Linked DNA regions of Homo sapiens: all the other regions are linked to region 3. The links are contacts of gene promoters, found by promoter capture Hi-C in human tissues and cell types (Jung and others, 2019). All regions are on one chromosome and are shown on one strand. Each heading gives the region's core, a stretch centred on a gene start or on the middle of the fragment in contact. The rest is flanking DNA. Distances are from core to core; before and after follow the strand shown.

Region 1 (3,158 bases), core at 333-2,832, 280 kb before region 3:
CTCAACTTCAGCTCTCTTTTCTTAGATATTCAATAAGCATCTGCAATTTAGCAAGTCCAAAGTTACACTCCATCTTTCTCTTCAAACCTGCTTCTCAATGAGTCTTCCCCATTTCCATAAATGGCAACTCCACATTTTCATTTTCTCAGACCTAAATCCTGGGATTCATATGTGACCTTTCTCCTTCTTTCATAACCTGTATCCAGTCTGTCACCAAGTGCTGCTCACTGTACCTTTAAAATACATCTATAATCCAACCAGTCTGTACTCTCTTCATGGCTCTTAGTTCATTCCAGATCATTATCAATTTTGGTCTAAGGAATTGCAATAACCTCCTAACTCGTATCCTTGTTTCTGCCTTTGTTATCCCAACAGTTTATCATCGATATAAGAGATTTATAAAGCATAAATTCATACATGTCACTCTTTTACACAAACTCTCCAATGTCTTCTCATCTTAAACAGAGTAGGAATGAGTTTACAGTGTTCTACATAATATGGTCTGTTCAGGGCTCTGTGATCATCATCTACTTGTTAATCTATTTCGGCCACATTCACCACCTTGCTCTTCCTCGCATGCTTCACTCATAATCTATCTTCAAAACTGTTGTACTTGTTTCCTTTACAGAACAATTCTCTATCACAAGTCCATCTAACTGTATTTCTGTCTTTCTTTATAGATGCATTTAACTATCCTTCTCTGTGAAACATTTCTTGGTCACAATATTTGATATTCCATTCTGTTTGTTTATATATTCATTTCTTAATTTTTTTCCATGACATCTATTCATATATCTAGCTTATTATACACTTTACTTGTTTATTTTACCTATTATCTACCTCTATTGGGTAGAATTTTTGCTCCATTCTGTTTTATGAACTACTGTACTTCCTAGAATAATTCCTGGAACATAGTTGGCATTCAGTAAATATTTGCTGAATGGATAACTGAATGAATTGATGAGTAAGTATAGCAATGCTTCTGATTACCTAATGGCAAAAGCCAGTATTGAGATTCTGGGGGAAAAATGACTGCAACAGACAAAAAAGAAGAAAAATTCTCTTTGAGTGTTTAAAAAGATGACACTGAAATAGAAGGGTGTACCTGGTAATTGTGTTAGTATATTAAAGAGCTAAAACATATGTACAAATTATGTAAGATTCTTTCCTATATTTACAGCTATATAGCTTACATGATAAATTATGAAGAACATTTGTTCTTCATAAGAGTTTGACAGACTATTAAGGTGAAGTTCATTAAACATCAATTTTACAGGACAGAAGATTTGTAAGGCTCTTCTGGCAATAACAGAAATAAAATAAGATGACTTGGAACATCGTATATAGAGATTTTCATTAACTTGTTGGTGTTATTCCTTTAAGTATTACAATTAACTAACTTCACATTTAGAGCCAAAATGAAGTACCATATGAGGTGGGAGATTTGTGCCCTATGATACAGATTTTGCGCTTGGATTTTATGTAGACTCCAAGATAATTTAGTTAGTCCTTAAAAGTTATTTTACTATAATCGGCTATTAGCACTTTATATACTTGCAGAGTTTTGTACCACATTATTAATCAGTCTATGCTCCCTCTCCTGCCAGTAAGTCTTGAGTTCCTTTAGAAGGTTGAATCTTCTTTCTTTCAGGGAGTGAAAAGGAACCAGAGACAGACTGAAGAATTCCAAAAGCTGTCCAAAAAAAGAAAATTTTCATAGTGAATTAGCAGAAGGAGGAGAAGGGAAGTGGAAAAGAGCGGCCGCATGAGTTCATGGGCCTGGCTTTTTATCATGCCTACTCTTGGGGCCACATCAGTGGCCTTGCTTTCATGCCAGAAGCAGTGCAAATCATAATTAGAATATAGAATATTGCAAAGAAAGGGGAAAAGGCCCCATCTGTGCAGCCACTTTAACTACAAGCCCAGAATCTGTTTTACAGCTGAGGCACAAAGACGGTATTAATACATGTGGTTAGTTCCTTCTCTATATATACTGTAGATTCATTGTGTCTGCTTTTCCTAGGTGGAGCAAACACAGACATACAATATTTTGTTCTCTTTTTGTTGTTACACTTCCTTTCTTGCCAGATGCGGCAAACCCCTTCCTAAGCCATTCTGTCTGTACTGCTCTGCACGTTGACACCCATCAGCTTGCAAGTGAGCAGGGCTGTCAGCACTGGATATTTTCTCCTCCATTGTCACTGGTCTAATGACATCCTCTGGTTTATGCACTTTTCTCTCCAACACCACCATAAGCTAGAATAACTCACTCAGTCTGGGTGTTAGGCACTTCTCCTATAATTCATGCCAAGTAAAGGAAATCCGTAGACTTAAGGACAAATAGTGTAGCATATGTACAAAGTACTGGGCAGTCTCCATGTGTAAACTTTCTATTAAATGTAATGAAACAAAGCATCTCAATGTGCATGGTTTTTTTTTTTTTTTTGCAGATAAGTAATTAGAGATGAGAGATCTTCAAACAATAGGGCCATTATTCCCAAAATCACCATGGGAATGAGTGAAAGTTTCATATATTTAGGTTGATTTCAGAGTCTAGAGTGCTATGGGAGCTTAACAAATGATTGTTAATTATTATTTAAGCACCAGTTTTGACCGAATCATAATGCTAATGGATCTCTTTGGGAATATTCTTTAGATAGCCATCATTTATCTAGACTTGATATCAGGCTTTGATTAAATGTGTTTATTCCAGTATCAGCAAGAAAATGTCTTACACATTTTTATACTTACAGAAGACAATAGGGCTCAGCACATAGCAGGGGGTTCAAAAATATGTTTTAAACAGTTGAACTAAATTTGTGGGATTTTTACAACTCTTTGGGTTTTATTTTGGCAGCTAAAGCCAACTGAGAGCTGTGTTCTTGCTGCTCTAAGAATGATTGCATAAGAACAATGTTTTAGGATTTTTTTTTTAGGACTTTCGAAGTACTGCTATCTGTCTTTAGCAGTACTTGCTCTTTTTGGGAATTTTTCTTTGTTTGGATGGGTCAAGTCAATAGATACAGTGAGGAACAACCTTCAGGACATAGTGTTATGGATGAAATGTTTTCAGCGTGTTCAGTTTTTTTTTTTTTTTGGCAGTCAAGTTTATATATATATAAAGTTCTGGGATACATGTGCAGAACTTGAAGGTTTGT
Region 2 (3,596 bases), core at 31-2,530, 350 kb before region 3:
TATATGGCAACATTCATACTTCTATTCAGTGGGAAAAGAATGACTTACTTAATACTCAAGGCTGACAATTAGCTATTTATCTCGAGAGAAACAAAGCTGGACCCACTCTCACTATGTCTGTGCTGTCCAATATAGTAGCCACTAGCAAGCAGCACTATTTACATTTAAATGTAAGTTGATTAAAATTGAATAAAAATTAAAAATTCTGCTCCTCAGTGACATTAACCATCTTTTAAAGTGCTCAAAACTACATGTGGCTAGTGTCTAATTTATCAGGCAATGCAGATTATAAAACTTTTCCATCATTGCAAAATGTTCAATTGGACAGAAGCCTCTCTCTTTGTCTCATTCCCCCTCTATATAGTATTTAGCTATATTTATGTATAATTTACATACGTATATGTCAATTAAACATAAATGTATATACATAAATATAAAATATATTTTTATTATATAATATATCTTATATACAATAGTTCTCAATTGATAAAAAATTTAAATATAAAACAATGAAATCATCAAAGCGACATAAACAATATAGGGGTGGAGGGAAACCTCTTAACTAGATATCCACAAAAAATAGAGATTTGTTTGACATAAAAAAGTTAAAGTGATATACAAGGCAGGCATGGTGGCTCAAACCTGTAATCCCAACACTTTGGGAGGCCAAGGCAGGAGGATTGCTTGAGCTCTGGAGTTTGAGACCAGCTTGGAAAACATAGTGAGATCCCCATCTCTAAAAAGAAAATAATTATAATAAAAGCTTCAAATTAAAACATAAAAATGATATACAAAAAGTATGTGTATCAAAACATCACTTTGTACACCTTAAATACACAATTCTTATGTATCAATTATACCTCAATAAAGCTGGAAAAATATAGATGTTGATATCCTAGAATACGTTATAAAGGGAATAAGCTGTATGATGAGTCAGGAAATAATTCAGCTAATTTAGAACGGGTGGTTTGGGATTGCCCCTCTCAAGAGGGTATTTGAGCTGAGACCTGAAGGATAACAACAACCTTTATTGTGGAGAGCTGGGCAAAAAACACTCTAAGCTGAGTCCATAGACCTAATAGCTCTTTTGAATGACAGAGAAGCCAGGGTGCCCTCTGTGTTCAGGGGCAAAAGAATGGGTTGTATAAATTAAGATCAGAGTAAAATTGGTTTGTGGACCGCTTCTGGTCATGAAAGTTAAAAACCTTTACGTTAACTTTTCACATTGCTGAGACTCCAGCACTTGATCACTGGACTCATTTCAGGACATAGAAAAGTTCAGGTGTTTCAAACTTGCATGGTATATCTCATTGCTAACTGCTTTTAACCATGTGCAAATAGGTCCACAGTGGAATAGAAAAACAAAAGTAAAACAAACTCATCTCTTTACAGATAGGTAGAGAAACACTGTTGTAAGTCCTGGAGAGATATTTGGTTGCTATTCATAGAGCAAAGAAACTCACCAAAATGTTTTATAAAGAAGTGAATTTTTACGTATGTTTTCCAAAAGAACTCTAGTTTAAAGCCAGAGTTACCCTAGATTATATTGTGCAGAATGGATTACAAAGGTACAGGAGTTAAATTAAGAAGGTATTAGGAGGCTGTTGTTGTGGTCCAGGGAGGAGCTGATGGTGGCTTGGACAGGGTGGCTTGGACAGGGGTGAGGAAAAGGGAAGAGTAACAAGGAGCCATAAAAGATTTCTAGTTTTCTTTGCTTTAGTTTATTTTGCCATAATTACTGATGACATCTGTGGAGATAGAACATAAGGAGAAAAGAGTTTGAAGGCAAAAATCAAGTTCTGTCTTGAAAAAATTTAAGTCTGAAATGAATATTACCAATCCAAGCAGATCTAAAACTCATCAGAGATGTCTGGATTGGGAACATAATCTTGGGAGTTATCAGCATGTAGATCTAGGGTGATCAGACTTCCTGGTTTGCTCAGGACACTCCTGCTTTAGCACTGAAAGTCCCAAGTCCCGGGAAACTTCTCAGTCCTTGGCAAACCAGGACAGTTGGGTACCCTAAAGAAATGTTATGTATGAGAGCAACCAAGAAGATCACACAGAAGGACTGAGTCAGGCAACTATTCAGAAGAAAGAGAAACCTAGAAATTATAGCCAGTGACGTAGGAGGAAGATGAGATAGGAAAGTGTCAGATTTTTCAGAAACCAAAGGGAAAGAGTGTTTCAAGAAAGAGAGAATGCCAACCATAGGATGCCAGGGAATGTCAAGGAAGAGGAGAATCAAAAAGTAGATTTGACAAGATGGTGGTCACAAATTACCTAAAGAAGAGAAGATTTTGAGGAGTGATGAGGAAAGAAGCCACAGTGTAGTATGTTGAAGAGTAAAGAGTAGGAAAAAAGATCAGTGAGTGTGAAAAAAATCATCCCAGTATCTTTGCATTGAAGGGGAGCGGAGTGATGTGCAGTAGTTTGAAGAGAAGAGAAAATACAAAAGGGTTTTATTTTTATTTTTTATTTTTATTCTGTTGCAGGACTTTTCCTTAGTTCAGCTAAAGGCAGGGTTCATTGTCCCACGGCCACAAAAATTCAGGCTCGCAGACAATTTGGTGAATAAGGCGGGTTTGTTTGTTTGTTTGTTTCTGAGTCTCACTCTGTCTCCAGGCTGGAGTGCAGTGGCATAATCTCCGCTCACTGCAGCAACCTCTGCCTCCCAGGTTCAAGCGATTCTCCTGCCTCAGCCTCCCGACTGAGGGGCTGCAGTCGTGCGCCACCATGCCCAGCTAATTTTTTTTATTTTTAGTAAAGATGGGATTTCACGGTGTTAGCCAGGATGGTCTCGTCTCTTGACCTCGTGATCAGCCCGCCTCGGACTCCCAAAGTGCTGGGATTACAGGCGTGAGCCACCGTGCCTGCCCAAGGCAGGGTTTTATTGGGTGAAAAGGAAAAGAAGGAGGAAACGGACTCTAGCTAGGCCGGGGTCCCTGCTAGAGAGCTTATAGCCTGGCCATTGGAATCTCAGGTTCCACACAGGAAGAGGAGGGGCCAGGCTCCTCCCCTCTGCAAACAGGGTGAACTTCCTGAGGCTCCACCCCAGTGGGCAGGCTGGTTGGAGTTTCTCCAGGAACCCCCTCCCACCTGGCTGTCTCAATTCTACTGGGGAGAATATGCTTGTCAGGCAGTGTTAATTATGTATTGGATATTTTAGCATAAATTTAATGTGATTTTATTCTTCGTAGTGTGTGACTTTCTACAGTTACATTCAGCTTCTCAGGCATTGGCATGAAAAAGAGTTTTTGAATGGTTTTTAATCAGTGTTTGGGTTTCCAGGGGAGGATGCTAGGGAAGAGCAGCAAGTTAAAATAATTAAAAGATAATTACTTCAATTAGGAAACATGGATTAAAAGCCAGGTAAAGGGGGAAGAGGAAACAGAAGCACATAGGAAGATAATGAAAAGCAAAGTCAGCGTTTTAGAGGTTTCATTTAAGTTTGAAGAATTATTGCTAAATGAGTACTTGAGAATGAAAACAAAGAACAAACAGCAAGTGGCAGCCAGAGGAGAGAGGGATTAATTTTAAGCTTTTGAGGTATGGTGAGTTAGTGCTGATGCAGTGTCAAGGGTGTGACCACTGGC
Region 3 (3,163 bases), core at 383-2,882:
AAAGAAAGCAGCGCTTACAAATCTCAGAATTCCTGATCAACCCCCACTCCACCCCACCTCTGAGCAATAGAAAACAATTCGATCTTTCACACGGATGTTATTGCGAAGCCACTATTCTGCAGTGTGACTTAAAAGAAAAGAAGATAGTGAGGCTTAAGCAAGGGGACTGGAAGAGGAGGGGAAAGGTTCTGCTTTGGGGACACCTCTCAAAGATTAATCAATGCTTTTTCCTAATTCAAACCAGATGTCTAGCCCAGTTTGCTGTACCCATTAATCCCACTAACAACTTCAAAGACCTGGTCATCATCCTCTGGACACCTGAGACAATGAAAAAACGGGGCGACACTGCTGGTGGCGCATTTGGGGCCCCGGGCAGAATAGGTGACTACAGATATTCTCCTGATGCGACAGGTCGCAGATGGGACATGACTGTTCCTCCTGCTCATTACAGCGCCACTCACTTGTGTGTAAACGACTCTGCCCCCAGCGGACCCTGTCGCCCGCCAAGCAAGTAGCAGCTTCAAAGCCCTGCCCTCGCTCTCGCATGCTTACTAGAGGCGAGTTTTCTATTTTATTTTCAGGGGTGCAAAATTGTAACCAAGTGCCCACGGTGAGTGAATTTTGGGAGCTATCGAAATGTAAGAATTCTCAGTAAATGGAACCCTGGTGGTAAGGAATGCATTAGCGGATTTATTTTTGAGCAGAAGAGAGTGGATTTCTGGAGGAAACCGAGGAGATCTGGGCTAGCTCCTGAGGGGAAAGGCTAGAAATGCGCGTGCAATCTACACATCTCATATGACCGGGACACAATCGCTTGGAAATATTCTTGACCCAGGAAAAGTTCTTCTTGGTGGACAAGTGGCTAGGAAATTGAGCGGGACCGGGAAAGAGGGGGAAGGGAGCCTCCACCTGGCATCGCACGTGAGGATGCCAGGGAGCAGGCATCTGCAACCCTTTCAGACTCACGCCTTCCTCCCACCCACCCAACCAGGTCCGTCTTCTTTCTGCACTGAGAACCGCCTTTTCCAGGCCATGGTGCTCATCCCCGCAACCTCAGATCTGGCGTCCCAGCCTATTAACAACCCACCGACAGAAACCAGCTGCGAAAACCTAGGCGCGCTGCGGCGCCCGGGGCACGGGAAGATGCAAAGTTTGAAAAACTTCGAGGGTGCGCCAAACTAGCTCTGGTCTTTTCCTTTAACCCTATTACTTCTTTCGTGTTCCTGAAAGGATAGGCGTATCCCTAGCTTTTCTGCAGGTGACAGTTCCCAAATGACACTGACAAGTCACGTTTCCCCGAGAGGAAAGTGAGTAGGTAGGAATCAGGGTGCTAGGTTGGGGGTGGTGTGCGCCGCGCCCAGGCCTCCAGAGTCTGGAGGGCAGAGCTGCTGCCCTCCCGGGCGGGACTTAGACGTTGGCGTGCCGCTTGTAGTCCTGGCAGCCGGCAGTGCTGGGCGGGCGTGGACGCTCTACGTCCGTCCAGCAGGAGATAGGAAGTGGAACTGGGAGCGCGTGGCGCAGGCTGAGCGGGAGTTTTGGAGGGAGTTTGCATGTGGTCAACTCTGGGCTCCTAAGCCAGCCCCCAGCTCACGTTACACTCTATTTATAACTTCTCAGAGCCATTTCCCCCTGAAAGCAGTTCTCTGGGACCACCTTCTTTTGGCTTCAACCTCTCCCACTCTTGACATCTGAGTAGCTCAGGGAAGCTCTTCCAGGTCCGACTGTTCATATGTAAAGGAGACTGGCCGCTGGGGCTCAGGACCGGGATTATCCGAGCTCTGCAGAAGTGCACCGCTATTGCTTTGGGAGGTTAAAAAAAAAATCACACGGTTTCCAGTGAAAAAGTGACAGAGGGTGGTGGCCTTTGGAACCGCCGTGAAGTCTTCTGCCTGGAACCCGAAACTTGCATGCTATGGAACACCCGCTCTTTGGCTGCCTGCGCAGCCCTCACGCCACGGCGCAAGGCTTGCACCCGTTCTCCCAATCCTCTCTCGCCCTCCATGGAAGATCTGACCATATGTCTTACCCCGAGCTCTCTACTTCTTCCTCATCTTGCATAATCGCGGGATACCCCAACGAAGAGGGCATGTTTGCCAGCCAGCATCACAGGGGGCACCACCACCACCACCACCACCACCACCATCACCACCATCAGCAGCAGCAGCACCAGGCTCTGCAAACCAACTGGCACCTCCCGCAGATGTCTTCCCCACCGAGTGCGGCTCGGCACAGCCTCTGCCTCCAGCCCGACTCTGGAGGGCCCCCAGAGTTGGGGAGCAGCCCGCCCGTCCTGTGCTCCAACTCTTCCAGCTTGGGCTCCAGCACCCCGACTGGGGCCGCGTGCGCGCCGGGGGACTACGGCCGCCAGGCACTGTCACCTGCGGAGGCGGAGAAGCGAAGCGGCGGCAAGAGGAAAAGCGACAGCTCAGGTAAGGGCGCGCCAGGCACCCTCGAGAGTGCGCGCCGGGCTGGAAAAGGGGCGGAGAGATACTAGGGGAGATTCTCGCACTGGAGGGTGGCAGCAGGGAAGATGGGAATGTGTTGCCCTCTGTGGCTTCCTGCGGCCAAATTCGGCGGTGAAGCTTTGGTCCTGATATTTGGGGACACGTGTTTATTCGAGAGCAATGCGTATACAGCCAGCAGCTCTAAGCCCTCCAAAGTCCTAAACTAGTTTACCAGAAGGTTGATAAAAAAGGACAAGTGGCTGTGAAATCGATTGTGAAGCGTGACCTTCCATCCCAGCGCTGGGGAGGGAGGGGCGTGCGCCCAGGGATGCAGCGTCCGTTGGGCAGGCGTGCGTGCGGGTGCCGCTTCTTGACTTTTCTCTTGCAAGTTGCCGACTCTGAGTGGCTCGATTTTTCCCATCGTTAACTGGATTTCCAAATTATTGCACAATGTTTGGAACTTGCAATGGAACTTGGCAGAGCGCATGAGAAAAAAAAGTTTCAGTTTTTTTTTTTTAACATTCTTATTTCAGCGTTCTTTAAATAGCACCCTATTTCAAATGGTAAAATTTTCCCTTTATTGGGGAAGAAGACATTATCTAGGAATTCAGATTTTAAGGAATGTGTCAGAGAATTGTAAATAAATAGATGCTCACACTGGAAGAAAGACGAACCTTAATAGTACATGTCCATGTGGTGTAAGCTAATTACAGAACCTA
Region 4 (3,448 bases), core at 115-2,614, 330 kb after region 3:
CACCACGCCCGGCTAATTTTTTTGTATTTTTAGTAGAGATGGGGTTTCACCATGTTAGCCAGGATGGTCTCAATCTCCTGACCTGGTGATCCGCCTGCCTTGGCCTCCCAAAGATCTTTTTTTTTTTTTCAACTAAGTTCACATGTTCAGAGTTTTGTGATAGGTACTGAGAGGAAATATTTGAGAGATATGGCTGCATGACCCTAGAGTTGTCACAGTTTCAGTCAAAGACACCATTGTGCTGATGACAGTGACAGTGAGCAGCCCACTGTGGAGAGACGCTGCTTCTAAGCTGTGTTAGCAGTGTCCTATGGCTCCTATTCATATAAGGCATCACTTAGTAACAAATGATTTCCAGAAACCAGGATTCTTTAAAAATGCCAATATTCTAGCTATAGCTGGCTGGCATCACTAAGGTGAAGAAGGCATGGGAATTATTTTGCCTGCTTATTTCTGCTTTATTTATAATTTATCTGGTTTTTTCTTCTTATTTTCATGAGGATCATAACCTGATTTTATCTGCATGTGTTCTCAGGTGTGGGCATGAGGGCATGCGTACGTACTCTTTATTAATCTCAGAACTGCCTGCCTTAAGAATTGACCATATCCTGGCAGTTATTATAGCTTTTGGATCCAATTGACCCTTAAACAACAAGGGTTTGAATGCACAGGTCCATGTATATGTGGATTTTTTTTTCAATAAATATTACACTAAGTGTGCCTGTCTCTCCGGCCTCCCCTTACACCTCATCCACCTCCTCCACCTCCTCCAACCTCTGCCACTCCTGAGATAGCAAGGCCAAACCCACCTCTTCCTCCTCCTCCTCAGACTACTTAACATGAAGATGATGAGAAAAAGAGACCTTTATGATGACCTACTTCTTCCTTATTATTTTCTTAACATTTTCTTTTCTTTAGCTTTATTGTGAGAATACAGTGTATCATACATTCAGCATACAGAATATGTGTTAATCGTCTGTTCATGTTACCACTAAGGTTTCTGGTCAACAGTAGGTGATTAATAGCTACATTTTCCGGGGAGGTGAAAGTTATAGGCAAATTTTTGACCGCACGGGGGGTTGGCCCCACTAACCTCCGAGTTGTTCAAGGGTCGAGTGTACTTATTGCTAACGATGTAATACTTCCTTTGAAGCTTGTAGTTATTTTAATTTTGTTATCAGTCATTCCAACCAGATTTTTGAGTACCTCTGTCTGCTTTCATTTCTCTTCTGCATAATGAGAATAATAAAAGTAGTACCTACCTTGGTGGGTGGACATGTGGATTAAATAAGATTATACATACAAAAAGTACTTATAATAATGTCTGTAAATGTGCGTGCAGTATGTTGTGCCTACTCCGCCAAAAGCTTCAGTACAACTAACATTACCACTCCTATAATTACTACTGAGAATATAATAAAAGCACAGGCTGTAGGGCACATGTGATGATTCTTAGTAAGGAACACATAAGTTCTCCTTTTCCCAGTTAGTTTCTCTGAGTATTAAAAATGTCTTTGGAACATGAATTTATAGTATTTTTCTATAATTCAAATACACTATCATATGGAAAGGTTTCAGGATTTTTTGTATTTTATGATTTCATATATCACAAATTAGTCATGATTGCAGTGACCATGTAACATACAATAAAACATTTTATTTAGAACTTGTTTGGCAAATGTGGATTACTCAACCCAGCTTAGTGAGAAATGAACCAGGGGTAGGAGTTTAGTTGTTGACGTATTTTAGGATAAATAAAATGATGGCTCTAAGACACAGCAGATAACTTTGCTTCTAACTGAGTTGTATGAAAGATTACCTTTGTTCATTGGACTCATATTTAAGAACTGCTTGCAAAAAACTTTACTTCTACAAAAAAACATACATGATATATATGTAGGCCACTTTGACTCTTCTCAATGTTTATATTTAAGGTATTTCATTTTAAAAAATGTAAATATATTTCTTTTAAATGAAATGTTTTCACTACAGTAATAGAAAACCACACATTAGAAACACCCAAAGCATAAATTTAAAATGTCATCAATTTATGAGCAAAAATTAAAGTAAATATGAGTAAAAATAATAAATCTAATTTCTTTTTTTTTTTTTTTTGTTGAGACGGAGTCTTGCTCTGTTGCTGAGGCTGCAGTGCAGTGGCGTGATCTCGGCTCACTGCAAGCTCCACCTCCTGGGTTCATGCATTTCTCCTGCCTCAGCCTCCCGAGTAGCTGGGACTACAGGTTCCTGCCACCATGCCCAGCTAATTTTGTGTATTTTTAGTGGAGACGGGGTTTCACCATGTTAGCCAGGATGGTCTCAATCTCCTGACCTCATGATCCGCCTGTCTTGGCCTCCCAAAGTGCTGGGATTAAATCTAATTAATTTATAAAACTCCATATCTGAAAATAAAATCCTTATAAAAATGGCATTGAATAGGATCATCCAGTAATATGGGGATATTTATCTTAATGCCATTGTTAAAATCGCTTCTATCATTTCCATCCCAACCCCTGCTTTATTTTAAAAATGTTACATTTAGGTCATCATCCCCAATACTTCAAGGAATAAAGGCAAAGCAAGCAAAATTAAGACAGGTAGAACAGACCTAAAACTCAGAGAGGCGCTTCCTTGTCCTTCTCTTGCTGGCATTGGGTGACAGAGATTTACCACAAAGACATGTTCTGGGAGTTGCTGTTAATGTCAGAGAATACATGAATTTGAGTTATCTAGGAGTGGGTTTGGGTTGCTTCCTTCTCAATGGTTCAGAAGTCCCTGCTAAGCTCAGGAGAGTGGAAGTTTAAGGTCTTTTTATCTTGGGGAGGGACTGAGTTTGGAGTGCAGAAAATCCCACCTGCATCTAAGAAGGGAATCCCTGGAGGGATTCTTACCCTCCTAATTCACAGTTCTGACTGAAATCACGGAGTACCAACATTAATTAGTACGTATCTCACCCTTTAGGAAACACCCTACTTGTCTTCCAACTCTGCAATCTAATTATTATGCCTTCTTATTATCCTTTCCACGTTATCATCTCGTCTGGGCAGCTCTTTTGAAAAAGCATTAACCCAAGGTTAACAATTTGCTGCCTCAGCCATTTTATGTGCAGAAGAAACCAATACTCAAAGCAGCAACCTTAAGACTCTTCAATTTTTATTGATCTATTCAATAAATATTAAATGTGCACTGACAATTCCTGCTATGTAGCTGTTACATGCCAAACTTCAGAAGAACACGTTGTAATTTCAACTCTTAAATAGAATGGTGAATTAAATGTTCATTGACTTCAAAATGCAAGGGATGCATATTCAGATGTCTCGTTTTACCCAGTTAATATGTCAACATATATGTATCAGATAATGAAGGAAGATTCAACAGTTCTTAGCAAACTTCATACTTTCATGGGTTCTTCCTTTTCCTGTCTTGCTTTTTTTCTCTTCCTTTCTTT

Evidence for each region. Contacts are between HindIII fragments. The study calls those that stand out against the background at their distance.
Region 1: a fragment that was not itself captured here is called in contact with the fragment with the promoter of MEOX2 in region 3 in 1 of the 25 tissues and cell types used here (dorsolateral prefrontal cortex).
Region 2: a contact is called between a fragment that was not itself captured here and the fragment with the promoter of MEOX2 in region 3, in 2 of the 25 tissues and cell types used here (dorsolateral prefrontal cortex and heart left ventricle).
Region 4: a fragment that was not itself captured here is called in contact with the fragment with the promoter of MEOX2 in region 3 in 2 of the 25 tissues and cell types used here (lymphoblastoid cells and spleen).

Annotation. Positions count from the first base shown.
Region 1 is chr7:15,966,605-15,969,762 of GRCh38, reverse strand. No RefSeq gene overlaps it. Among named protein-coding and RNA genes, the nearest start is that of CRPPA-AS1, 240 kb to the left of the region's middle. The HindIII fragment of the contact is 6,900 bases long and covers 1-3,158 here.
Region 2 is chr7:16,035,421-16,039,016 of GRCh38, reverse strand. No RefSeq gene overlaps it. Among named protein-coding and RNA genes, the nearest start is that of CRPPA-AS1, 170 kb to the left of the region's middle. The HindIII fragment of the contact is 5,327 bases long and covers 1-3,596 here.
Region 3 is chr7:15,685,152-15,688,314 of GRCh38, reverse strand. MEOX2 (mesenchyme homeobox 2) reads left to right here and starts at 1,632. Exons shown (of 3, transcript NM_005924.5): 1 at 1,632-2,429. The coding sequence starts at 1,913. RefSeq lists an enhancer at 2,436-3,163. The HindIII fragment of the contact is 7,827 bases long and covers 1-3,126 here.
Region 4 is chr7:15,357,959-15,361,406 of GRCh38, reverse strand. The region is part of intron 12 of AGMO (alkylglycerol monooxygenase); the gene reads left to right. Among named protein-coding and RNA genes, the nearest start is that of AGMO, 200 kb to the left of the region's middle. The HindIII fragment of the contact is 5,316 bases long and covers 1-3,448 here.